6 separate regions of the Homo sapiens genome follow, and regions 1, 2, 4, 5 and 6 are each linked to region 3. The links are contacts of gene promoters, found by promoter capture Hi-C in human tissues and cell types (Jung and others, 2019). All regions are on one chromosome and are shown on one strand. Each heading gives the region's core, a stretch centred on a gene start or on the middle of the fragment in contact. The rest is flanking DNA. Distances are from core to core; before and after follow the strand shown.

The links. Contacts are between HindIII fragments. The study calls those that stand out against the background at their distance.
Region 1: a contact is called between a fragment that was not itself captured here and the fragment with the promoter of PFKP in region 3, in 1 of the 25 tissues and cell types used here (lymphoblastoid cells).
Region 2: a fragment that was not itself captured here is called in contact with the fragment with the promoter of PFKP in region 3 in 1 of the 25 tissues and cell types used here (dorsolateral prefrontal cortex).
Region 4: a contact is called between a fragment that was not itself captured here and the fragment with the promoter of PFKP in region 3, in 1 of the 25 tissues and cell types used here (dorsolateral prefrontal cortex).
Region 5: a fragment that was not itself captured here is called in contact with the fragment with the promoter of PFKP in region 3 in 1 of the 25 tissues and cell types used here (dorsolateral prefrontal cortex).
Region 6: a contact is called between a fragment that was not itself captured here and the fragment with the promoter of PFKP in region 3, in 1 of the 25 tissues and cell types used here (dorsolateral prefrontal cortex).

What each region holds. Positions count from the first base shown.
Region 1 is chr10:1,483,818-1,488,071 of GRCh38, forward strand. The region is part of intron 1 of ADARB2 (adenosine deaminase RNA specific B2 (inactive)); the gene reads right to left. Among named protein-coding and RNA genes, the nearest start is that of ADARB2-AS1, 41 kb to the right of the region's middle. The HindIII fragment of the contact is 9,278 bases long and covers 1-4,254 here.
Region 2 is chr10:1,384,554-1,388,809 of GRCh38, forward strand. All of the region lies in intron 1 of ADARB2 (adenosine deaminase RNA specific B2 (inactive)), which reads right to left. Among named protein-coding and RNA genes, the nearest start is that of ADARB2-AS1, 140 kb to the right of the region's middle. The HindIII fragment of the contact is 6,824 bases long and covers 1-4,256 here.
Region 3 is chr10:3,066,298-3,070,557 of GRCh38, forward strand. PFKP (phosphofructokinase, platelet) reads left to right here and starts at 1,251. Exons shown (of 22, transcript NM_002627.5): 1 at 1,251-1,410. The coding sequence starts at 1,299. It overlaps LOC124902536 (wiskott-Aldrich syndrome protein family member 1-like), which reads left to right and starts at 273. Exons shown (of 1, transcript XM_047426132.1): 1 at 273-1,051. The coding sequence starts at 406. The coding sequence ends at 843. PFKP-DT (PFKP divergent transcript) reads right to left here and starts at 636. Exons shown (of 4, transcript NR_160681.1): 1 at 456-636. RefSeq lists silencers at 980-1,079, 1,090-1,489, 1,910-2,089, 2,503-2,683, 2,770-2,969 and an enhancer at 2,290-2,359. The HindIII fragment of the contact is 12,531 bases long and covers 1-4,260 here.
Region 4 is chr10:4,602,003-4,606,484 of GRCh38, forward strand. No RefSeq gene overlaps it. Among named protein-coding and RNA genes, the nearest start is that of LINC00705, 52 kb to the right of the region's middle. The HindIII fragment of the contact is 7,033 bases long and covers 1-4,482 here.
Region 5 is chr10:1,078,954-1,083,437 of GRCh38, forward strand. It overlaps WDR37 (WD repeat domain 37), which reads left to right. Exons shown (of 14, transcript NM_014023.4): 4 at 1,058-1,153; 5 at 1,459-1,523. Among named protein-coding and RNA genes, the nearest start is that of WDR37, 25 kb to the left of the region's middle. The HindIII fragment of the contact is 5,397 bases long and covers 1-4,484 here.
Region 6 is chr10:1,115,132-1,119,597 of GRCh38, forward strand. The region is part of intron 11 of WDR37 (WD repeat domain 37); the gene reads left to right. Among named protein-coding and RNA genes, the nearest start is that of LINC00200, 42 kb to the right of the region's middle. RefSeq lists an enhancer at 2,358-2,859. The HindIII fragment of the contact is 4,843 bases long and covers 1-3,957 here.

The DNA.
Region 1 (4,254 bases), core at 364-2,863, 1.6 Mb before region 3:
AAGTATTTACGAATCAACAGTGCTGGAATTATCCCTCCAGTTTCAAATATGACACGGAAGTAACTTAAATGAAAAATTCCTTTCTTATTCCGCCATGCGCCAGGGGATTTTTCTTCCCCTGAATGAAAGTGTCAGCATCTCATTTATTAACAATGCAGATACACATCAAAGCCACTATTGAATCTGTCTCTCCCCATTGACTTTGCCTTCCTATTTCTACACCCTATACTTCTTGTTCAACGAATTGTTCTTGATGTGACGTCTTCACAATAAGCCCATAAGCACAACTGAAACACAATTTCCTGCTAGCTTCAGTCAAGATACATTAATCCTCTCGATATTTCCCAGGACAATACTATCTCTCTTCTGCAGACTTTATTTCTCTCATTTGGCTGAGAAGGAGAAAAATCCTTGAAAATTGGTTTGAAAAGTGGTGTGCAAAAACAGTCAGAGCTAAAATTTCTTGGGCACACAATTTTCTTTAAATGCTCGCATGTTCATCATGCACCCTCACGTTAAACACTCGCGTGTGAGAAACTGAGAAGGAGAAGTTGCCGGACAGCTGAGCGTCCCTGTGCCGCTGCCACCCCAGGCTGCCGCCCACCGCTCAAGCTCAGAGCTAGAGCCCTGTCCACGCTGTCGTCCCTTCCTGTGGCTCCAAGTCTGTTCTGTCCAAGTCACTTCTCCATGAAAATGCTGGGTGGAACGTAAGGAATGGGAAGAAGCTTAAGCCATTCCTCTTATAGACCTGGGCAACCACATGGCGTTTATTCTCCAGAATATTCATTTGATGGGGACCTCTGGGAAATGCTATGGCAGCTACACTCATTGCCTTTCTGCATAGGTAGGTGTGCATGCATGTATGCAGGTGAGGAGGCACATGTGTAAGTGCGTGTGTCTGTGGGTGTGGAGGTGTGTATGTAGGCGTGCATATAGGTACATATACAGGGAGGGATGGATGTAGGTACAAATGCAGGTACCCATGTAGACATCCACCTATGTTGGCATGCAGGTGTGTATGTAGGCACCTATGTAGATATGTATGTAGGTACATATGTGGCTATGTAGGTGGATTTGTAGGTGCACTTGTAGGTAGGTGTGCAGGTATCTATGCAGGTAGGTATGGAAATGGGTACAGATGTAGGTATGCATGTAGGTATGTGTCTATGTCGGCATTCAGGTATGTATACAGGTACATATATAAGTATGTAGGTGGATTTGTAGGTGCGCTTGCAGGAAGGTACCTATGTAGGTATGTAGGTGGATTTCTATGTGCACTTATAGGTAGGTATGCATGTAGATACCTGTGTAGGTATGTAGGTGGATTAGTAGGTGCATTTGTAGGTAGCTATGCATGTAGATACCTATGTAGGTATGTAGGTGGATCTGTAGGTGTACTTGGAGGTAAGTGTGCAGGTAGGTATTTATGTAGGTATGTAGGTGGATTTGTAGGTGTACTTGGAGGTAGGTACCTATGTAGGTATGCAGGTAGATATGTAGGTGCACTTGTGAGCATGTGTGTACATATACAGATGTGTAGGTAGATTTGTAAGTGCACTAATAGATAGATCTCTACCTAAGAGGCATGGATATAGGTGCAGATGCAGGCAGACATGTAGACATGTACCTATGGCAGCATGTGGGGGGATATGTAGGCACCACGCAGCTCCGCACGCAGCCTGCATCAACAACTCTCACCCGCCAGTCTCTGGCCGCTGCCCACTTGCAGTGGGTGGGGGCAGAAGAGTCCACCAAGCGTCCCAGGTCTCGTCAGCATAGTTGATGACTCTCCTGGTCTGATCCACAAGGCTGAAACACTAACTTGTTCATTGCTGTCCTGTCACCTTGTCACAACACGTGCCCCGGTGGGATGGAATAATAACGCTCCGTCTATGGCGAAGGCTTAGGCTTTGCAGAATTGTTTGGGGTGAGAATGAGGCAGCCCTGATCCCCCATGTTCATTCCTCTGTCTCACCCACCTTGAGTGTTTGAAACCAGAAACGATTCTAATTCAGACTTGCAATGTGATTGTAATGGACAAAATATTGGCCTTGGCTTGGAGTGTTCAAGTTACGTCCAATGAGAAATAAAATATATGACTCTCCCTCTCTCTTCTAACTTCATCATTGGATTCCAGCAATTGAATGTTTGTGAAGGCTTGGCAGGGAATTAAAATCTATTTCAGCTGGCAGAAGCTCTGAGGTGCTGTATTTCTGGCCTATGTATGGTTGTATTGAAGGGAGAAGATGCACAGTTCCTAGAGGTGCCACATCGGCTACTCATTCATCTTTGAGTTTTGTGGTTGGGCCAATTATCTCAAGCTCTACTGTAAACCTCGTTAGAGGAAAAACACAATGAAAATGTGTGTGTGCATGTGTATGTGTGTGGACGCCTGTGTGTGTGTGTGTGTGTGTGTGTGTGTGTGTGTGTTGTTAAGCACATCTCAGAGATGCTTTCTAGATGGCATCTATTCCAGGTTTATCTGTTTGGGAGATGATAAATAGAATTCTTAATTATTGCATTATTCTCTCTAAATTCCAGATCATTAATATATTCTACAGAGGTAACTCTAGATGGATAATTAAGTAAATCATCTGGAGAGTCGAACAATATAGACACAAAGTCTGCACATTTCAGGTGGAGCTATTAAAAACACCAAGGTCTTTAGGGACTGGCTGTGTCTGGCCAGAGTTAATCAAGCTAGGTTTATAACAGATTTGCTTTGGCTGTATATTAAGCAGTTAGGGCTGCTTTCATACAAATATATTCTACTGTGTCTTCCTTGGACTGTGTTTTATTTTCTTATTTTTGACAGAAATATGGGTATACAGACCTCAAGAAAAAGCAGGGGTGCAAAAGAAACGACGGCCAGCCATCAGCATCAGCCTCAGAACTGAGGGTGACCAGGGTTGGTGGGGACTGACCAGAGACACCATGACTCATTGCTACCACATGGGAAGGTATCCAGGACTGCCAGATATTTCAGGAGGAGCCAGAAATCTCGATTTACTGGTGTAAGAGAGTCCCACATTTAAAATGCAAGAGGAGTGAACGTCACTGGAATTGAGATAGATGAAGTACATGTAACTGGTTTAGGGTTGGAAGAGGAAAGAAGAGAGAACACGCGAATCTCTGTTCTAAGTCTCCCACTCAGACCTCCCACACAGACCTCTGTGCTCTCAGTGCTCATTGTGTGTGAGAATTATCTGCAAGAACTCTAGAAAGTCGTGGAGCCCTGGGCCCCACCAGAGAGGCTCATCAGCTGCACGCGTGGGTGCCGTGGGAGCCCGGATGCTGGGGAGGCCGGATTTCAGCCCTGCTCCCCTTGGCCAAGGCCTTGGATAGCAAACCTGGAAAGTCAAACCAAATCCATCTACGACTGGGTGAGACTCAGGTGAAGGGTTGTCAAGTTATCTGGTGATTCTGATGCAGCATTAGGGTTGGGAACCCCAGTAACATTTAAATTACTTGAGCTCTTCAGTTGCAAGTTATTGAAAACAAGTGAAAACAAAAAGACTAAATAAACATTCTCCACACACACACTCACACTTCTCGTAAACAGAATTTGGCAAGATAAGCTCTTGCTGGTCTGGGAGCTGGACTTCTTTATAGCTCTTGAGGGGAAGGAGAGGAGGTGCCTGCTGCTGAGTGGAGACCCTGTGGGCTCACCCATGCCCTGCCCTGACCTGCTCCCGGCCCTGGGTTGTGGGCGAAGCTATAGCCTCACACTTCATTTTGGGCCAAGGGTTAGGTGGGGTAAATAAAGGTCATGGAACATGACTTGGGATATCTGACTTATTCCTAAAGTGTAGTTGGAATAAAGCAGGAAGAAAAGAATATAGACATTTGGGAACGGACATGGTTTAGGGAAAAAGTTTAGGTATTACAAAATGTGCAAAAAGATGTTTGTTTTGCAATTTATGTTTTCAGGCTGGTGTGAACTAAATACAGATTGACAGCTCTGAAGAACCAAGAGTGGTCAGAAAAACAAAAGTGTGGTGGTAGCTCTTCACCTACTGGGAGTTAAAAACACGTGCCGCGGGTGTGAGGAGAGCTTGGCATGATTCCACAGAGGAGGAAGAAAAAAGGAAACAAACAAACAAACAAACAGATGAAAGGGAATTTGTTGAATTTACAATGAATTAGAGTCTTTCCATTGTACTAATTTAAAAGTTAATATATCAGCTTCAAATTTTTCATAAATTGTGGTAATTTCCAAGAAGGTCATCTACATGTTTCTTGGTTTGCTTTGAG
Region 2 (4,256 bases), core at 1,488-3,987, 1.7 Mb before region 3:
TATGAAACAACCGTTTTCAGAGTTTGGATGCCAGGCAGTGCGTGACCATTGTTCCTGAGAAAAGGAAAGCATGAGAGTGCACCCCACAGCTCCACAACTTCCCACCTGGAAGCTCTTTTCAGCAGTAGAAAAGTGGACCTGGAGAAGAACACAGCAGCACTGATAAGTTGAGAAGGCAAAAACCAAAGTTTGCACTGCTGAGACAACTAGAATTTGAGGGCAGAAGGAAGCTGCTTCAGAGATCTGGTGGGGCCACTGCTGGATTTGGTTGAGACTCAGCCCCACATGAGAAGGAGAGACTCAGATTTCACAGAGAGCAGTGGCTGGGGACCTGCGAGCTGAATGAAAATTCAAATGATGGCACAATGCTGAAAGTCTGGCATTCTGATCAGGCGGAGTCATAGATCACTGAAGAGCTAGGATTCAGCTGGGATTGTAAAAAGGTCATGTTTTAGGACTAGGAATACTCTAGTCCTAGATTAAGAACTGCCGTGAACATGCGCTAACAAAGACTTAAAACAAGCTTTGAAATCATCTAGTTGATCATTTCAACTAGAAACTGGTCAGTAATAAACTACCCTTGGTCAGTAATAATCTACCTGCTAGAAGAAAACTCAAGGAACACCGTGAAATCCATATTCTGAACAACATGGTATCCACAAAGCCCAGCAAATAATGATAGAGTAATAGTAATGACATTGCTAGAAGTGAGAAGCAGCAGGAGAATATGACCAATCATCAGAAAAAAATATAGTCGAAGTAAAAAGATCTAATGATGCTGAAATTAGCAGATAAGGACATTAAATAGATGTTAGAAATATTTTTAAGAATTTAAAAATAAAGGGGATATGATAAGTAAATAGATGGGGAATCTTGGTAGAGAAATGGAAACTATATAAATAAAACAAAAATTCTCAAGCTCAAAAACATAACATTTGAAATGAAAAAATTTACTGGATGGGTTTCACATTGGATATGTCACTTTGCAAAACATATCAGTAAATTTGAAGGCAGATCAATAGAAACAATCAAAACTAAGCACAGGGAGAAATAGAAAAGGTGAAAAAAGTGACAGACTCAACGATCTGTTGGACAATATAAAGCAGTCTAACTTATGTATAATTGGAATTCAAGAAAAAAATGGAAAAACTGTTAAGGTAGAAAATATACTTTAAATAATAGTTTAAAAGTTTTCAATTCTTTTAGACACATCAAATCACAGATCCAAGTATCTCAATCAAACTTACATAGAATAAATCTGAAGAAGACTGTACCAATCAGCACAGCCAGATTCCTGAAAACAAAAGATAGGGAAAGTATTTTCAAAGTAGCCAGAGAAACAGGACATCTTACATACAGAGCAACTGCAATGAGAATGACAGAATACAAATCAAAAATTTGCTAAAAGACTATTAACTCTTTAAATACAAGATAATGACAGTGTACTGTAATGTTTATTGTATATTTAGAAAATATATAAAAAGAGCAGCACACACCTTGGGATGGGGTAAATATAATTATTCTGTTGCAAGTTTCTTCCTTTGATCATGAGGTAGTTGGCTATGATAAGTTAAACATGCATGCTTTAATCTCTAGATCAGTCACTAAAAATAATACAAAGAGGTATAGCTAAAAAGTCAACAGAGAAGATAAAATAGAATACTAAAAAAGATTGATTTGTTGAAAAAGGCAAAGAAAGAGAAACAAAAAAATTGAATAAACAGAAAAAAATTAGCAATATGGTACACTTAAATCCAAATATATCAGTAATTACATTAAATGTAAATGGACTGAGTACTCCAATTAAAATGCAGAGATATTCAAATTGTATTTAAAAAACAAAACTTATATTTTTTATTGCTACAAAAACTTACTTCAAGTATAAAAATATAGACAGGTTAAAAGTCAAATGACTGAAAAAGATACATCATGTAAATGCTTATTTTAAGAAAGATGGAATGGCTATGTTAACAATAGACACAGTAGTTTTCAAAATATGAAATATTGCCAGGGATTAAGAAAGACATATCACAATGATCAAGTCATCAAGATAATATAATACTTGTTGGTGTTTATGCACTCAACAGAGTTTTAAACAACATGAATAAAAAACTAGCAAAATGAAGGAGGGTAGAAACATACATAATGCTAGTTTGAGATTTTAACATTCCTCCCCTAGTTACTGATAGAACAAGTAGTGAGAAAAAGGTGGTATAGAACAAAAAATTAGAAGAACTCTAACAGCTAACTTGACCTAAGTTACATTTATAGAACACTGTATAGAGTATTTGCTGAGATGGACTGTACACTACAAAATAAAAAAGGTCTCAATAAATTTTATAGGTTTGAGATCATAAAAGTATATTTTCTGGCCACAATATAGTTATGTTAAATATATGTAACAAAAAGATATATGGAAAATCTGTATATACTCAGAAATTAAGTATCACCATTGTAAGTGACCCAAGAGTTAAAAGAGAAATCACAGGAAAATTAAAGCCTCTTTATTCTCAGTGATAATGAAAGTATAACATAACACAATTTGTGAAACATAGTTAAAGCAATGCTGAGAGACATATTTTAGCTCTAAGTTTATGCTTATATTAGAAACAAAGAAACGTCCAACATTATCTAAGCTTCCACTGTCAGAAGCTAAAAAAAGAGAGTACATCAAACCAAAGTTGTTAGAGGAAGAAACTACTAAAATTAATAGTAGGAGTCAAAATAGGAAGTGGAAAAAAATAGGGAAAAAACCCTAATGAAGCAAAAAAATTGGCTCCTTGAATAGGTTTGATAAATCTCAAGTTAGATTAATCATGAAAAAGGAGAAAAAAACTTCCATGTTTTCTAATTAGAAATAAATGAGGGGATCTTACTATAGTTCCTGCAGTCATTAAATAAGAATATGGGAATAATGTAAACTATTGTATGCTAGTCAGTGAAAAACATATTTGCAATGGGAACATTCTTTGAAAGGCAAAAACTGTCAAAGTTCACTGATGGAGAAGCAGAAAACCAGAAGAGTGCAATATATATTAAGTAAATTTAATTCATAGTAAAAACAACCTCACATGTAAACTAGGCTCAGAGAGCTCCCTCTGGTGAACTGCAAGAAATATTTAAAGAAGAAATTATACCAATTCTGTGCAAAATTTTCTAGAAAAATGGAAGGGGGTGGACTATCAAAATTATTTGATGAGGCCAATGTTAATCTAAAGCCAAAACCAATCAATGATGTTATAAGAAAAAAAACCTACAGACCCATGGTCCTCACGAGCAGATGAGTTTTTAACAAGATATTAGCAAATCAAGTTCATCCCTATATAAAAATGTTAATGTATCATGAACCAGTGTGGTTCATCCTGGAATGCAAGATTGGTTTACAGTTTGAAAATCAATCAATGTAATTCACAACCTTAACATAATAAAGGGGGAAAAATAATAGTATCTTAAAAGATGCAGAAAAAACATTTGAGAAAGACATGCCAAACCTCCACACTCATATTTACAAGCTATTGCTAAAATAAGTTAAAGATAAATAAATAGAAAGATACACCATTTTCACAGAATTCAAGATTCAATATTGTTGTAATATCAATTGTCTCCTAATTTATCTATAGATACAAAACCCATTCTTCATGAAAATTCTCACCACACAAAGGACTAGAAGAAAATTTCCTCAAATTGATACAGGACATATCCAAAAGTTATAACTAGTATTATATTTAATGACGAAAGAGTGAATGATTTCCTTGTGGTACTGGGAACAAGGCAGGGATGTCTGCCTTCACCACTTCTATTCAACATTGGACAGAGGTCTTAGTTAGTGTCATAAGGCCAGAAAATAAAAGTCATAGAGATTGGAAAGGAAGTAGAACTGACTTTATCCTCATGGCATGATCATATATGTAGAAATTCCTAAGGAAAGATGAAAACAACTACCAGAAATAATAAGTGAATTCAGCAAGGTCACAGGACAGAACTCCAATACACAAAAGTCTACATGCTTCTATGTACCAGTAATGAAAAAGTGGAAAATTAAATTAATAAACAATACTGTTTGGACAAAAAGGTATAAAATACTTAGGTATAATCTGAAGAAAAAAAAAGACATGCCAAACCTCTACACTCACATTTACAAACAATTGCTAAAATAAGTTTAAAAAGACCTCAATAAATAGAAATGTATGCCATTTTCATAGAATCTAAGGTTCCATATTGTTACAATATCAACTGTCCCCTAATTTTTCTATAGA
Region 3 (4,260 bases), core at 1-2,500:
TGAGCACTGAAGGAACCCGGGTCCCATAAGCCCGTGCTTCTATGGGGGCTGCCCCCTCTCCCATCGCAGGGTAACTGGCACCAGGCTGTTAAGCTGTGGATGGGCAACCGCACAGTGCATTGGATGTGAGTATTTCAGTACGTGGAGCTGGCCAGTGGAGCCGGCCGAGGTCAGGCAGAGCGTACAGCAGCGCGCGTGTCCGTGGGGAGGGAGGGTCCTCCCGCCTCCCCGCCTCCCCGCCAGGCCAGTCCTGTTGCGCCTCCTCCTGCCCCACTCTGACTTTCCAGCGCCCAGGCCGGGGCGCCGCCAGGGCGTCTCTGAGGGTCGCGCCCCGATACCTTCCTCCACCCCACGGCTTCTTCCCCCCAAGGGCGGGGCTGGGGGCCCAGGAGCACCACAGCCCCCATGGGCCCGGGAAATGGCAGCTTCGTCATGGCCCAGCCCGCCACGCTCACCTTTTCCCACCACCTGGAGGATCCACTCTCCGTCCGTCCTTCCCGACCTCAGGCTGCAGAGGAAACCTGGGGGCGGGGGTCGAGGAAGCCGAGCCCCGAGGCTCCCAGCGCCGCCCCAGGAGGAATCTTGCGGGCCACTAGAAGCTGTGCGCGCGGCCGGGCTCGGCCCCCACAACGGCCCGAGCGGCCGGGCCTGCCGCGAGCCTCCGCGTCCAGGTGGGGTCTCCGCGCCCCCATTCCACCCCTCCCCGCCATCGGCGCTCCCCGCAACTGCGGGGTTTCCACCCGCCCCGGCGCTCGCGCCCACTCACGGTCTCCCTCGCCCCCCCGGGAGATGCTCCCGGCGTTCTATCCCGCCCCGCCCTGGCGCGCCCCGCAAACGATGTGACCCCGGCCCCCTGCGGTCTCCCCTCCTCCGGACGCTGCCCCTGCCCCACCTGTGGCGCTCCCGTCATCTCTAGAGCCCCCAACCAGAGTCCTCCAGCCCACCCGCGAGGCTCGCGCACCTGCGATGCGGCCCCACTAGCAGGGACCCGCCCACCTGTGGCGCTACCCCTGCCTCTGCCGCCTCCCGCACCGCTAGCGCGGCCCCCACCTACGACGACCCCCGCGTAGATGCTCCTGCCCACACCCGCCCCAGCCCCGGCCCCTGCCCCTAGCCGCGCCCGCGCCCCCTCCCCCGCAGCCCCTCCCATACGCTCGGGCCCCGCCCGTCACCGCCCATTGGCGCTGGGGCCGGGCGGGGGCGCGGGCGGGGCGGCGGTTCCGAGTCAGGCGCGCGCGGGCAGGGTCCCCATTGCCTGCTGCGCACCCGGACGTGCGGCTCCCCTCGGCCTCCTCGCCATGGACGCGGACGACTCCCGGGCCCCCAAGGGCTCCTTGCGGAAGTTCCTGGAGCACCTCTCCGGGGCCGGCAAGGCCATCGGCGTGCTGACCAGCGGCGGGGATGCTCAAGGTGCGCGCCCCCCTCCCGGCGGCGAGGGAGGGACGGACGGACGGAGCTGGGGAGAACCGGGCGAAGGCGATGGGGTGACCGGAGAGAAGAGGGGGGAAGCGATGGGGGGGACCCGGGGAAAGGTGGCGAAGCGATGGGGAGAACCGGGGAGAAGAGCGGGGAAGCGATGGGGAGAACCGGGAAGAAGCCCGCGCCCGGAAGCGGCAGGGGTACCTGCGGGGCGGCATGAGCCGGCGAGGCAGCCCCGGGGTCCTTGCCCGGTGGGGCGGGGGAGGAAGGGACATGGCGGTAGGAACCTCCATCCGGAAGATCAGTGAGTTTTCCACCTTCGGTTTTGTTTTAAATGGAACCTGGCAGAGGGAGTCGCCTGAAGCGCCCTCGGGGGTCGTTCTGCCTCTGAGCTGTAGGACGGGGCCGGGCGTCCCCTCCGAAGCGTGGGTACAGCGCGATCACTTCCTAAGTGCCCCCCCGCCCCCCAACTCCGCCGCACGCCACCCCCTAGAATGTCGAGGAAGAAACGGCTGGGTCCCCGCGCGCCTCCTGTCGCCTCGTGCCCTGCGCGGCGTGGGCGGGGTCCTGGCTGCTGCAATGCGGGACGCGGCGGGGGTGCGCGGGGTTCCCGCCTGGCGTCTCCAGGGCGGTCCGGCAGCCCCTCGCGTTTCCGCTGGGAGATTTTTAAAAAGGGTTTCCTGCGCTCGCATGTGCTGTCGCCTTCCGGCTCGTGACAAAAACGAAAACCAAAATGGGTCCCAGGCCCTCCCCGCCAGCCTCCGCAGACGGGAAGGATCAGGAAGCGGGGACTCCGGGATGTCAGCGGCGCCGCGGCGCGGGCTCCGGGCTTCCCTGCCCTGCAATGTGGAAGCTGCTCTCTAGGAGGGGCCCGAGGCTGGGCCCACGGACGCGGGCGCGCCGGGAGGATATTTAACATTGAAGAGCGGAAGGTGGCGGAGACTCGGCGCGCCCCAGGCCCCGGGTGCACGTGGGGGCGCCGGTGCCCGGATGATGGAGTGTCCCGATCCGTGCAATCCCTGGCGGGTAGATCGGCGCTTCCCAGGCGAACGCAACCTGGGAGCCTTAGCGATCGCGCAGGCTGGAGACGCGGCGCGCCCCGAGCTGGGTTTTGATTTTTGTTTTCCCGGTTCCTCCTGCCGCAGATGCGTGGAAAGGCCCGGATGGCGGATTTCCTCCCGTTTCGGGGCCGCGCACTGCACAGGGTTGGAGCGGGGATGCACCCCCTGCCCACTGCGCGGGTGACCTTCCCTTCGCCCTTGAGCGCGCGGGGCGGGCGCGGGTGCCGCAGGTTGAGGCGCTGTGGGCGCCGCCCCGCCCGCCACGAGCGCCTACGTGATGCCCGGCCCGTCGTCTCCACGAGCCCCGGCCCCGACACCCGTGCGCCGCGCGCTCCCCAGGCCCGCAGCGCAGCCTCCCCAGGCCCAGCGCCCCCCGCGGGAGACCCGGGTGGCAGCGCCAGGCCCCGCCCCGCAGCCCGCCCTGCAGCGCCCCCGGGAAGTGCTCTGGCGTTAGCATTCCAGTAAAAGGACCCCAGCATCAACGTTCTTCCTGCAGGGCTGGGTTCTCAGAGAAAGAAAACGTGATGCAGCAGAGGATGGGATTGAAGAAACAGGAGAGTGAAGTGGAAATAGCCTGGCCCGCGTGACTTAAACCGGCCCGGAGATGTGCGGGTACGAATGGAGCCGCCTTGGGGTCGGGATAGGACCCAGAGTGGCTTCTCAGTCAAAGGCCTTCAGAAGCAGAGGGAGCACCTTGAGTGACCTTACCTGGGCCGCGAAAGACAAGAAACCTTTGGCACAGGAAGAGGAACTGATCTCTGGAAGCCACCAGGGCGGGTGGAAAGTCAGGGTTTCAAGGTTATTTTGGAATTTAGGTGCTGTGGGCCTTGTACGGTGGCTCATGCTTGTCATCCCAGTGCTTTGGGAGGCCGAGGCAGGAGGCTCGCTTGAGCCGAGGAGTTCCAGAGCATCCTGGGCAACATAGTGAGACTCTGTGTCTACAAAAAAAAAGAAAGAAAAAAAATTAAGATACTGCATGTATTGGAAAATATTTATGGGTCATTCCTTTGAGCTCCATGTCCAAAAGCTTGCTAAAATGCGCGGGAGTTTGTGTACAGGCATGTGAGATTAGGATACATTGGCAGAATCGCGGTGTTCTCTGTTACCCTGGTTTTGCCACCTGGGAGGAGTTAGACATATTGAAGGTTAGTAAGTCCACGCCTCTTCTTTTCTGGGGAAAATGATACTTTGGAAACCAATATTATGTGGGGAACGCGGCTTGGTTGCTGCAACCTCGGGTTAATAGGAGACAGCTGCCCTCAGCTCTGCAGGTGGCATCAAATATGGTGGCCTCGAGCCCACATGGGTCACACCTGGGCTGTCCCTGGGGAAGCCCGCCATGGCGGGTCGCCTGGGCACTCTTTCCCTGGCAGAGCTGAAGTCACAATTTTTTTGTAGACTCTGTAAAGAGCTTTACCCTTCGGTGATACGATCTTGAACCTGTTGGAGCATTTGGACGCATTTCTTTTAAGGAAGTTCACCTCCAGATGTACTCAGAGGGCCTGGTCTTAGCTGCCACAGATTTACAAACCCTTACAGTAAGTAGGTTATTCCTCGAGAATATCTCAGTGTCCCCATTCTTTTACCATTTTATTCTGATTCTATGTTAGTACTTGATTTTCCCTGACATAGAAGACTATTGCTTGTAGCTAGAGATGAGAGAACATATTCACATTCACGTATTAATTTCAGGGGAATTTTCTGTCAGATGTGAAATTATGGTAAAATTCCGTATATTAAGATGATCATAGCTACCATTTGTTGAAAACATTTTGTATTC
Region 4 (4,482 bases), core at 1,658-4,157, 1.5 Mb after region 3:
ACAGCCAAAATATATCAAATCTCCCCCAAAATATCTATTGTAACATAAAAAAAAAAAGACTAACTTTACAATGGAGAAACCTGTCAAAGTTGCCATCAGTGTGGTGGAACAAATTGACATTATTTTTCTTCTGGTAGCATGCAGTGAAGGAAGCCATCACCACCTCTGTACTTTTCTTGCCAAAAAAGCATCATCTGAATCTAATAATTAAGAAACATCTAATCATTAAGAATCTAATCATTAAGACTGGCCCCAAATCGGGGGCATTCAACATAATGACTGGCCTATAATCTCTGAAAAAGTTATGCTCCTGATGCCCAGGGGAGACTAACGGACTGTCCTGGTCTGGAGGTGGTTAATGTGCCCTGACTACCAAATGCAGTCTGGGATCCTGGGCTGGGGCTTTTTGCTGTAAAGGAGAAGAATGTAGTCCGCAGTGAGCCCCACATGGCTGAAGAGGAAATGTGGATGTGGGGTGTATAGTTTTCTATAACTTTAAGATTATCTCAAAACAAAACATTATTAAAAAGAGTTTGAGCAAGGAGACTTTTTGCCCTGCCTCCTGTAAACTAAAATTAAATCCTAAGGCCCCCACTGACTGTGTGGGCCCCCTCTTGGCCAAGGAGACCCCAGATAAACATTAAAACTGAGTTCCTCCCGTCATGACGGAACGGGAGGTCAGAGGACTCATTATAACACTCTCTTTTGCTGTGTAGACAAAACAACTGACCAGCATTAATGTTAAAATAGAGATCATTATAAGACTGACAGAACAGAGTCCTTTTGGCAATAAGATACCAAACTCCAAACAGGACCTAAGGCCGTGTCAGGCAACGGTTAAGTCACACAGCCCACACTTGAATAATAAACTGTGTTCTCACTGCTACAGGGTTTTAATTTTTCTCCAGCAGCTAAATAAGCCCTGGCCTGGAGACAAGCAATAGTGAAACAATTTGCAGCCCACAGATGCTGCTTAACTGAGCCCTGTTTCATCAGCCATGACCCCAGCTTTGATTGGACAAGAGACTAATTTCAGTAACTTTCTCCAGCTAAGATCATCCACCATGGACTGATTCTGGGCGGTCTACAATCTCTGTAGAGAGAACCAGAAGGCTCAGAACCACTCATGGGCCTTCGTGTCCCGAAAAGATCTTTTGACATATAGGGCCTCATTGTAATATGTTGTCTCTACCAAAAGTGAACATGGGTTGTATGTAACATGCACATTTGCCCATTAAGCATGTGTCAGCACTCCCTTCATGAATATTCATAGCTCTTCTTCTTACCTGTTGAATATGTATGTTTAGCCAATGTGTTCAGCATAAAGCTCCTGCCCAAACCTCTCCTCCTTCGAAGTGCCTGTCTCCGGCCTTGGCTGGAGGCTGTGCTCCCCAGCCTGTGAGACAGCCACCTTGTAGGCTGTAACCCTTTACAAGAAATAAAGTCTCCTCCTCTCTTTTTCTAAATTTATACACACCCAATTTTTTTAAAATTAACTCTCCCCAGCCCTATCTGCTCTGAATTGTATGTGGCTATGGGATTTATCTATTTCTTAGACTTTTGAAAATATTCTCTTTTTATTTTCTAATGTAATTTATATAAATATATTTTCTCTCTTATGAAATCAGTTTTGACATTTGGTATTTTGCTAGAAGTTTAGCCATGTTACCCATATTTTCAGATATATTTGCATAGCATTTAAATCTTATAATTACTTTTCTGAGACTTTATCCCCTTTAACATATCCCTTTTTATCTTAACTAAGTGATTTATTGCTTGCTTTTATCCCAAAGATATTTGGAATATATATATTGGTCATCGCTTTTTCCACATTTGTGTTCATTAACTTTTGCTTTCATCTTTATTTCTTTCTTTCTTTCTTCTGCTTTCATTGAGTTTATCTTCCAATTTCCAAAGTCTTTAAGAATAAATATTTAATCCATTTATGACTTTTGTTTTATTAATAAAGAAAATAAAGCATTGATTGTCCTCTGGGAATTGAATTAATATAATTTCTAGATAGTTTAATATTTCTTCTATGAGTTCCTTTTTGACCTCTTGAGTTGTTTAAAGAGACATTTTCTTCCTTTCCTTCTCTTTTGAAAAATTAGCAGATGACGGTTTTATTTATTTCTAGTCTTGTTATTACCGTGTTTAGTTTGATTGCATTGTTATAGATAAAGTTGGTTATGCCATTTCTTTATTTTTGACAGTTTTTAAAATTTTCTTTATGGCTGTATTAGTCTATTCTTGCATTTCTATAAACACCTGAGACTGGGTAATTCATAAGAAAAGAGGTTTAATTGGCTAGTAATTCTGCAGGCTGTACAGGCAGCATGGTGGCTTCTGCTTTTGGGGAGGCCTCAGGAAGCTTTCACTCACGGCAGAAGGTGAAGTGGGAGCAGGCACATCACATGGCGAAAGCAGAAGCAAGAGACAGAAAGTGAGATGCCGTTCCTTTAAACAGCCAGATCTCCAGAGAACCACTCACTATATGGTGAAGACAGCACTAACAGCATGGTGCTAAAGCATTCGTGAGAAACCCTCCCACGTGATCCAGTCACCTGCCACCAGGCTCCTCCTCTGACACCGAGTATCACAATTCAACAGGAGATTTGGGCAGGGACACAGATCCAAACCATATCAATGGCATATATGATATAATTCTTTAGGCCTGGTGCAGTGGCTCATGCCTGTAATTCCAGCACTTTGGGAGGCCAAGGCAGGTGGATTACTTGAGTCCAGGAGGAGCTTGAGACCAGCCTAGGCCACATGGCAAAAACCTATCTCTACTAAAAATAGAAAAATTAGCCAGACATGGTGGCATGTGCTTGTAGTTCCAGCTACTCAGGAGGCTGAGGCAGGAGGATCACTTGAGCCTGGGAAGTGGAGGTTGCACTGAGCCAAGATCACATCACTGCACTCCAGACTGGGCAACAGAGGCAGACCTTGTCTCCAAAAAAAAAAAAAAATTTTGTGTGTGTGTGTGTAGATTTTTAATAGGATTTGAAAGAAGTTGCATTCTCTAAAAAATATGTTTAATATAATCAATTTAATTTAATTTAGTATTTAAGGCCACTATGTTTTCATCCGTTTATGACCACTTAAGCTGTCATGAAATTCAGCATCAATTAAATTCTCATAGCTAATACATTCACATCCATTTATTGTTAAATTATCTGTCCTTTTTAAAATAAGTATCAGTGATCTATGGAAATCTATAAATGCTAAATTTTCATTTCGTATTGTATTCTAATCATTACAAAGTGTCTGCCCGGGATCCTTTTAGTAGTATGTTGCCCAAACTTGCAGGATTCAGATGATTGGTTGGTGATCCCAGTTGCTTTGTAGCTGATATTGTCATGGCAATAGCTGTGGTTGTTGTTGGTATATCTAACATGCCTGTTTGCATCTCCCCATGTTTCTAACTTTTGACTTTTCTCTTTGTTTTAGATATGTCTCTTGTACAAAACATAAACTGAATCATTTGCCAAGTGTGTTCTATATTTTGAAATCCTTATCTTTCAAACTTGCAAATGTGAGTTTTCCTTTATACATATATCAATATTTTGGATATGTTTCCTTTCATTTTTAACACTGATTTTATATTCTTTACATCATCACTTCAAGATGACTTTTTATTTGTGTTATTTTTCTTATGATGTCTTCAGAATTTCTCCTGATAATTTGCACATTATTTCTGCTTCTCTACATGCGAAAGAATTGATATTTTTTCTTCCTTCTACTCCTCTCCCTCACTTCCACTCCAAATTTATTTTATAATTTAATAATTGACAAAGTCATACACATGAAGCTACTGCCAAATGATGCAAAAACTCACAATCTTAATCACTACACAATACTTCCTCTGACATAATTCCAGTGCATATTTGATCTCTCTGTATCAATTAGACTGCTTTTGGCTGTAACATAAAGTCCTCTATCAAGGAGTTTGAGCAAAATGGAAATTTATCATCATACATAATTTAAAAATTCAGTGACAGTAACTTCAGATGTAATCAACTTCAGTGGGTCACCAACTTCATATTCTTCTCTTCTTTTCATTTTGTGTCTTTAGCATCTCCGCCAGTCCACAGAGTAACTTTCTTCATTACACTATTGGATAAACAAAGCCCTACATGAATGTAAGTTTAGAAACTGTAAGGCATATTTCAATTTCCTTATAACTTCTCTCATTAAACTTTTCTAAAAGATAATTTTTGCCATTAAAATGCATTGTAGTCATTAAAAAACATTTTAGTCATTGTTAAAGCCTTGGTTTTTTTTTATTATTTTTAGGAATAGAAATTTTTAAATATGTCATGTTAATTACAAAAGAAAACTGACAGACACGTATTTCACACTAACATATTTCCAACAAAAACATTTTATCATTGTAAGTAATTCCCTCGAGCCTAAAGATTACAAACTATATATAAACACATCTTAGTTTAGTAAATTTGACAGCAGGGAAGTCTTTAA
Region 5 (4,484 bases), core at 1,234-3,733, 2.0 Mb before region 3:
TGGATGAATAATGAAGAGAATATAATCCTCTGTCATTTAAACTTTGCTTTTGGAAATTTTAATGTTAATACTGGATTCTCCTTTTTAAAGAGTCCACCTTTACAATTCATAGAGGGAAAAATCATTTCAACTTTTTTGTTTTTTTTTTTGAGACAAAATCTTGCTCTGTCACCTAGGCTGGAGTGCAGTGGCGTGATCTGGGCTCACTGCAACCTCCGCCTCCCAAGTTCAAGCGATTCTCATGCCTCAGCCTCCCAAGTAGCTGGGATCACAGGCACCCACCACCATGCCTGGCTAATTTTTGTATTTTTAGTAGAGAAGGGGTTTTGCCATGTTGGCCAGGCTGGTCTTGAACCCCTGGCCTCAAGTGATCTGCCTGCCTCGGCCTCCAAAATTGTTGGGATTACAGGCATGAGATACTGTGCCCAGCCCAGAATAATGTTTTTAATCGTGCAGAATCAATCACTATGGAAACTATGTTGAAATGCGGGTGCTGTCTTTGAGACCCTGATAGCAGTGTCTTCCACAGTGTAGCAAGTGTGTGAGCTTTTACTTTTGGAATGGTATCTCTAATGGTTTCTTTCTTTCTTTTTTTTTTTGAGATGGAGTGTCACTCTGTTGTCCAGGCTGGAGTGCTGTGGCGTGATCTCGGCTCACTGCAATCTCTGCCTCCCGGGTTCAAGCAATTCTCCTGCCTCAGCCTCCTGAGTAGCTGGGATTACAGGCATGCACCACCACGCCCGGCTATTTTTTGTATTTTCAGTAGAGACACCCTGTTGGTCAGGCTGGTCTCAAACTCCTGACCTCGTGATCCACCTGCCTTGGCCTCCCAAAGTGCTGGGATTACAGACGTGAGCCACCTCACCCAGCCTCGAATGGTTTCTTTAGTTTTTTGAGAACTCTATGAATTGTGATCTTGCTTATTAGAATATTATTCATGTCTTTGTTTATATAACACTAATATATAGCATTTTTTCTGTGTGCGAGTTTTGGAAGTGGTGAGTACACTTAAACATAAAAACATACTTTAGATTTTTGAAAACTTTTTTCTTCCCAGTACGTAGAGAAATCGACACTCTTAATGAACGTTTAGCTGCTGAAGGACAAGCGATTGATGGAGCAGAGCTGAGTAAGGGCCAACTCAAAACAAAAGGTAAGGTGAATCCCATGAAAGTCTTGTCCTGCAGATTATACATGCAGGAAATTTGGAATTTAGTGAAGGATGCTGGCTGGTTTGCGTTTTGCTGTCAGCAGACCTCGAACTATCTAATTCAGGTGTGGGTCTAGGAGAATAAGGAGCTCGGTTCTTGTTCCTGTTCTGCCATGGCTCTGTGTCACTAGGGTCAAACGAGCCTTTCTGGGCCCCCTTTCTTCCTGTGCAAGACACAAGACCCATTTGTGAGGCTATAGGTCTTTGATTGTGTGATTGTGTTTGATTGTCACTCTCTGTCCCTGCAGCCAGTCACAGCACCAGCCAGCTCTCCCAGAAACTGAAGACCACTTACAAGGCTTCCACCAGCAAGGTATGCAGGCCACTGGCTCTTGAGCCATCATGTGGTGGTTAAGGTGTGCAGATGTGTACTTTAAGTTGTTTATTTTCCAATTAGAAAGGCATAGCAGAAAAAGATAAATGGTTTTAAGGGAAATTTAGTTTTTTAAAGGAATGTCCTGGCTGGGCATGGTGGCTCATGCTTGTAATCCCAGCACTTTGGGAGGCTGAGGTGGATGGATCACTTGAGGTCAGGAGTTTGAGACCAGCTTGGACAACATGGTGAAACCCTGTCTCTACTAAAAATACAAAAATTAGCTGGGTGTGGTGGCGGGTGCCTGTAATCCCAGCTACTTGAGAGGCTGAGGCATGAGAATTGCTTAAGCCTGGGAGGTGGAGGTTGCAGTGAGCCGAGCTTACACCACCGCACTCTAGCCTGGGCAACAGAGCGAGATTCCGACTCCAAAAAAAAAAAAAAGAATGTCACTATGCAGGCATTTACATAGTAGCTTACCCTAGTACCTACAGGGATTAATATATGATGTATTAGTAAATATATTGTCTTTAGAGGGAATATATAATTTCTCTTGTTAATTGGCTTAATATAAAGGGTCTGAATTTGGAGGAAGCTAATAAATAGGTACAAATTAGTGAAAATTATGTTCTGAGCTAAAGTTACATTTTAGTTCATTATGTTCTTTTCCTCAGTTTCCTAAGTGTGATCAGGAAGTGAAGGTCTGTCTCTAAGGCAAATAGGGATGTTCATGGTTTTTGTATTTTCTTAAAGTATCTCGTGCTGACCTTCTTAAAGTGGAAAGGGTTTAATTGTTTGGGAATTCATTTGTCTGTGATGGATTACTATCAAGTGATATTTTGAGGTAATTTTGTATGCATCTGTACTTTGGCATATTTCAAGGATACAAAGATAAATTGAAATTTTCAGTGATCTTGCTATGATGGTGTAAGTAGTTCTTGTTAGCTTTTTATTTTTCCAATTTGTTTCCTTGAGTTTAAAGTTAATTTAGCATGACATCTATAGTAAGATTAACTGCAATTAATAGAGCAAATTTAGTCCTTCTGCCGTTTGTCCTCACTTGATAGTCTTTGGTAATTCTTTGTTATTCAAAAGAAAATCTGAAATTGTTGGTATTTTCTACTGTACTTTCCTTCGATAACATCTAGAATGTAAGTTGCTAATTTATTTGATTTTTTTTTTGGCCATGTAATGTCTAGCTTATACTTACAAGTTTTGAACTTTTTAATAAATTAACTTGAAGCTTTTTCTTCATAATGAAGTGTGAAATTATGTTCTTCCTCATTTAATTTCTTTTTACATTATCTTGGATTATGTTGTTTTTTCTGGTGTGTACAGTTGTATATATACAATGTATGGTCTTGGAATTCCAAAACTTTCTCATTATTACTGAAGTAGAGGAAGAAATGATTATATAAAGTTGTCCTTTACCATGAGCAGTAAAAAATAAGATTTGGACAAGGGTAAGGATATGTATAGTAATGCTTTGCTTTAAAAAATGTATTAGAGATATTTAAAGCCCAGTCATTTTAGGTACTAGAAATTCATCTGAATTTATAAGAAGCATATTACTAATGATCTTTATAGCCTTTGCACACTGCCCATACCCATTGTAAAAAATAACTATGAAAATATAAGACATCTGAAGATTGAAGAAATAATTTGGTAACAGAATATATTCTGATTCGTACTACAGTGTGGATTCTTGGTGCCAAAGCTAAGCATGAATGCAACAAGAGAAAGGCTACAGTCTAGCTTTATTACTTTCCCTCCTTCTGACCCAGAGCCACGAAAAGCAAGTAACGTGCCTGGTGGGATAGCGGGAACACAAAAGTGTGTTACGTGAACGCAGAAGAGGTTTTTCCCCTTCCTGGGTGGCTAATGAGATTTCTGATGCCTACGGGGGAGGGAAGTGAGGAAGTCTAACCTGCAGCCCTCTTTAAAGAAACTTATAAAAATCAGAAAGGGCTTTTTCCACAAAGAAAGACACTTATCTTCTCAAAAATATTTGCAAACATTTTCACAACCGTGCTTTAGATTGCGCCGCAGTTCAAACGATCTGGGATGATGGGCGTGAGCGTCAGTTTGCGGCTTTGTTCTGCTGCTTTTCTGTTATGAACGTTCCCTCTAGGTAATTCAGTCTGTTTTGTTGGGCCTCTTGGTAATGACGACTAAGTCAGCTTTTCTAAGGAAAAAGAGTTAAGGTAATAGATGGTCAAAGTGCAGTGGGCATTTTGGAAGCAACACATGAGAAAATATTTGAAAACGGCACATGATCCCCTGCACAGCTCCAGCAGCACAGCTCCAGCAGCACAGCTCCAGCAGCAGTGCAGTCAGAGCCTCTGGGAAGGAGCCACTCTGTTCTTACCCTGCGAATGGAGCAGGTGAAGAATGTAACTCTAGTAGTTTGTTTCTTATAATACTGTTATTAATGTTAGAAGTGGTGAGAGATTTGGAAAATGAAATTTACGACAATACTGTTACTTATGTTAGAAATGGTGAGAGGCCTGGAAAATGAAATTTACTACAATACGGTTATTAATGTTAGAAATGGTGAGAGACTTGGAAAGTGAAATTTACCACCGCTTATTATGGTGGGAGGTTGTGTGTGTCCTTTAATTTCACTCCCTCCTAAAATGTTACAATGTTATTTAACATCTGAATGACACTTTCTGTAAGCAAAAGCATCTCCCATGTTGTGGAGGCATAATTTTCCTGGATTGAATAGGATATTAGTGTTCAGAAAGAAAAGAGGATAATGATGGGTTTGAGGTTGAACAAGTGCTTTTGCAATTCCTCTGACCAGTTGCAGTGGAAGTTCTTCCTGTTACTGGTGAAAATGTTGGCCTCTTCCTCAGCCTTTTATATCACTGTATCCGAGGAGAATAACTCGAGGGTGCGGACCCAAATCCATGTGACAGTGGGTTGTGCTTTATGGTCTTAGGAAGAATGAATTTAGAT
Region 6 (4,466 bases), core at 286-2,785, 2.0 Mb before region 3:
TGCCTTGTGCCGGGCTGGCAGTGTTTGCAATGCGGATAAACTTTAGCATTGAAAAAAACAGGAGATCATCTCAACATGGATGCAATATTTGAGGATGCAAAGTTTTTTGTTTTCTTCCTTTTTAATTCTTTGCAAACGATTTTAACTTTATTCCCAAAATGTGGTCTTTGGTGCTTTCTTCTAAAGAAAACAAAACACACATCTAACCAAACAAAATTTTAAAAGATCAGTTGAGAAATTATAATGATCACTTTGAAGTGATGACATGTTTGTGTGCTTTTATTTCCAAACACCTGGGGGAGAGATTTGGTACTAAACACTGAGTTCTAGATCATGTGCTCAGAAAGGTAAACACAGTTTTGCAGCTTGTGTCATGGTGTTAACAGTTTTCCTTATGCTTTTAAAGGGAAAAGATGTTTGGAAATCGACATTTTTAACTGGATGATGGGCAGTTTTAATTGCACCTGAACTTTGTGCTTGGTCACAGTCAGCATGCAGGTGTCAGCTTGGGTGTGGGCCTCTGGGTGCTGTCCGGCCAGCTGGCCGCCTGGGAGGTGCGTGTTGGAAAGGACGCATGTGGTCTCTAAATCAGTTTGCTTTCCACTTTCAGATCTGCTTTCTTTTTGGTGATGGCTTTTGAGTCCTTGTCTGTGGGGAAGGTGGAGAGCCAGCCATCTACCAGGTGGTGACTTTGCAGACAGCAGGGCCCTGTGGAAGGGCCTCTGGGGCGGAAGTGACATGGAGATGAGGACGGCCTGCAGGCTGTGGGGCCTTGGAAGCACACCTGTGTCTCCTCTCAGTGTTACATCCCCTACCCATATGCCTGAAAGCTTGGTGGTTGTCTTTTTAATTAGATTACATTAGAGTACTTTAACAAAATGTTGTATGTATTCATGGGGTGTGAGTGCAGTTTTGCTACCTTGATGTACTCCACTCAGGTGAGGCCAGGGCCTTCAGCATACCCCTCATTGGAGTGATGCTCGTTGCACGCACCAGGCAACCTCCCGTCATCCACCCCGCCCCAGGTCTCCACTCTGTCCATCAGTCTTGTATCCACCCCACCCTGGGTTGTCTCTGCCCTGTCCATCAGTCCTCCCGTCATCCCCCCTGCCCTGGGTCATCTCTGCCCTGTCCATCACCCACCCCGCCCCGGGTCTCTGCCATGTCTCTCAGTCCTCCCGTCACCCACCCCTCCCCGGGTCTCTGTTCTGTCTCTCAGTCCTCCCGTCACCCACCTCACCCTGGGTCTCCACCCTGTCTGTCAGTCCTCCGCTGTCCCTGTGTGCACGTAGTTTTGCTCCCACTTGCCAAGGAGGACACACGCTCTTTGTCTTTCAGTGTTTGCATTGTTTCACTTAAGATAATGGCCCCCAGTTCTATCCATGTTGCTGCATAAATTAATAAAGGTGATTTTATTTTTAGGAAGTGTATAGATTTATATAAATACAACTCTTAATAATAACTGGCTGATATCCAAGGTTATCATAAAACCCAGGCTAGGGTCACTAAGGACTCCATCTGTCGCCCGTGACAGCTTTTCGGAGCTTTGCTGGTTGGCCTGAGTATGGTGCAGATTCCAGAGAACTGTAGTGGGCAGCAGTTGGCGGGAACAGAACCTCACTGCAGCAGTCATGTTCAGGGGTGGTCTTGGGTGTTTCCTTTGTATTAGTTAGTGAATGTTTTGTCTTGTGACCACAGAAACTGCCAAGGAGACGTTAGCAGATACAGTGTGCAGCTGGGCACACCTAGGCCCAGTGGTTCTTTCTGTGCAAAGGAGAATCCTTGTCTCTTACCAGCAGAGCAGCGCTGTCCGTGCCACCACCTGCAGAGCTGCCGTTCCATCCTCCTCTCTCAGTGTCCTGTGATATGAACCTAACAGTAACTTCCTGAGCCAGTCCCTTGTTGATGCATGTTTTTAAATTTTTATTGGTTTATTTTTTTGAGACAGGGCGTCACCCTCTCGCCTAGGCTGGACTGCAGTGGCATGATCACGGCTCACTGCAATCTCGACTTCCTGGGCTCAAGTGATCCTCCCACCTCACCCTCCTGAGTAGCAGGGACTACAGGGCTGTGCCACCACTCCCTGCTAATGTTTGTATTTTTTGTAGAGATGGAGTCTCACCATGTTGCTTAGGCTGCTCTCGAAATCTTGGCCGCAAGTGATCCTCTTGCCTCAGCCTCCAAAGTGCTGGGATTACAGGCATGACCCACTGAGCCTGGCTGCCTATTGATGCATTTTAAAGTCGCTTCCAAGTTAGAATATTGTTTTTAAAAGTGAGAGGAGATTTAGTGTATCTCTGTTTTACCCTTTTAAAGTTCCTCATTTAAGAAGGGCTACTCAGGAACTCATAAATAAGGACTTAAGGAAATGATTGCGTTTGAATCGCTCTACTGGACAGCTTTGTTTCGGCCTGTCAGATTCTGTCACTTTTCTTTGAGATGACTGTAAGACAGCCATCAGGCTATTGACACATACTCAAAACTTCCTAACTGTGAGGTACTTCAGGACAGACTCCGGAGACAGGTGGGGGTGTCTGAGTCCACAAGTCAGCAGAAACCAGCATGATACGCAGAGCGGGCAGCATGGGGAGGGGTGGCTGCCTAAAGCGTCAGCTGACGTTTGGAAAAGATGGTGGTGACCATGCTGTGTGCATGGCCACTGCAGAGCCAGGGCCCGGGTGGCATGTGAGGGTCGCCTGGCAGCCTCTTATCAGCATCTGCGCTGCGTGCACTCAGCCACCCTCAGCCAGCTCTGTTTGAAGTCCCTGCACGCATCTGAGCCGCGTGCACTCAGCCACCCTCAACCAGCTCTGTTTGAAGTCCCTGCACACATCTGAGCCGCGTGCACTCAGCCACCCTCAGCCAGCCCTACTTGAAGTCCCTGCACACATCTGAGCCGTGTGCACTCAGCCACCCTCAGCCAGCTCTGTTTGAAGTCCCTGCACGCATCTGAGCCAGGTGCACTCAGCCACCCTCAGCCAGCTGTTTGAAGTCCATGCACACATCTGAGCCGCGTGCACTCAGCCACCCTCAGCCAGCCCTACTTGAAGTCCCTGCACACATCTGAGCCGTGTGCACTCAGCCACCCTCAGCCAGCTCTGTTTGAAGTCCCTGCACGCATCTGAGCCAGGTGCACTCAGCCACCCTCAGCCAGCTGTTTGAAGTCCATGCACACATCTGAGCCGCGTGCACTCAGCCACCCTCAGCCAGCCCTACTTGAAGTCCCTGCACACATCTGAGCCACGTGCACTCAGCCACCCTCAGCCAGCTCTGTTTGAAGTCCCTGCACACATCTGAGCTGCGTGCACTCAGCCACCCTCAGCCAGCTCTGTTTGAAGTCCCTGCACACATCTGAGCTGCGTGCACTCAGCCACCCTCAGCCAGCTCTGGTTGAAGTCCCTGCACACATCTGAGCTGCGTGCACTCAGCCACCCTCAGCCAGCTCTGCATGAAGTCCCTGCAGGCATCTGAGCTGCAGGGTTTCTGGTGCTCAGCAGCAGAGCAGAGAAACACTTCATTTAACACCATCTTTGGAGAGCACGATGTTCCACAGAAGCGATTTCTCCAATGATCCCTCAAGAACCAACACTTTGTAAAAAAAAAGACTATTTCGTGTGTGTGTGTAAGAGAGGGACATACCAGTGCTTTAGGAGTGTGCACGCACTGCCACGCTGTCTCCCTGCCCTGATGGCCCCGCAGCCTGGGCGTTACTGTTTGTCTCTGTTGAGTGTTTTGTTTCAGCTTCTCTGGAAGTCAGCTGTTGCTTTTTGCCATTTTTGTGCTGGTTTCTAATGCTGTTTCTCACTCAATCCCACTGATTTCTCTTACTTACTGCTCCTGAACATTCTAAAACTGATAACGTAGAAATGAAAATGAACCCTGAATAAAAGACTAAGGGCCATTCCTATGAAGAAAAAACATGAGTGCATCGGCGTTAGGAATTTCTTCTGTATACCAGAAGGCCGTGCTGCAAAACAAGTCAAGAGCATATATTTGGAAAATACGTCTGTACAGGCTCCTGCAGATGCAGTGGTTGTGAGAAACGGTCTCTGTCCTTGGTAGCCTTGACGTTCTAGGATGATAAGATCAGTACACGAGACAGAGCAGAGCAAGAGAACACAGAGCTGAGTGCTGTTACTGAGTCCAGGCACCACAGGTCAGTGTTTCTGTAATGGGTCTTCTTTCTTTGTGTCATAGCCAAGGTGAAGCTCTTCAGCTAGCAGAAGAGTGTTCTCACTGTGCCCCCATAGCTCATGGATCTCATCTTTAGAATCTTATTTTTGGCCGGATGAGGTGGTCAGGTTATACTGAACTAAATGTTCTCTTTGAATAGTCTGTGGAAAGGTTCTTACTAATTCAGTTAGTCAAATCTTAGGGAGGCTTTAGCATAGTCTGAAGTCACTTTAGAAGCCCTTCTCTGTGGGCCATGGTAAACACAGATGTTGCAGAGGCTTCTTGTAGCTTTG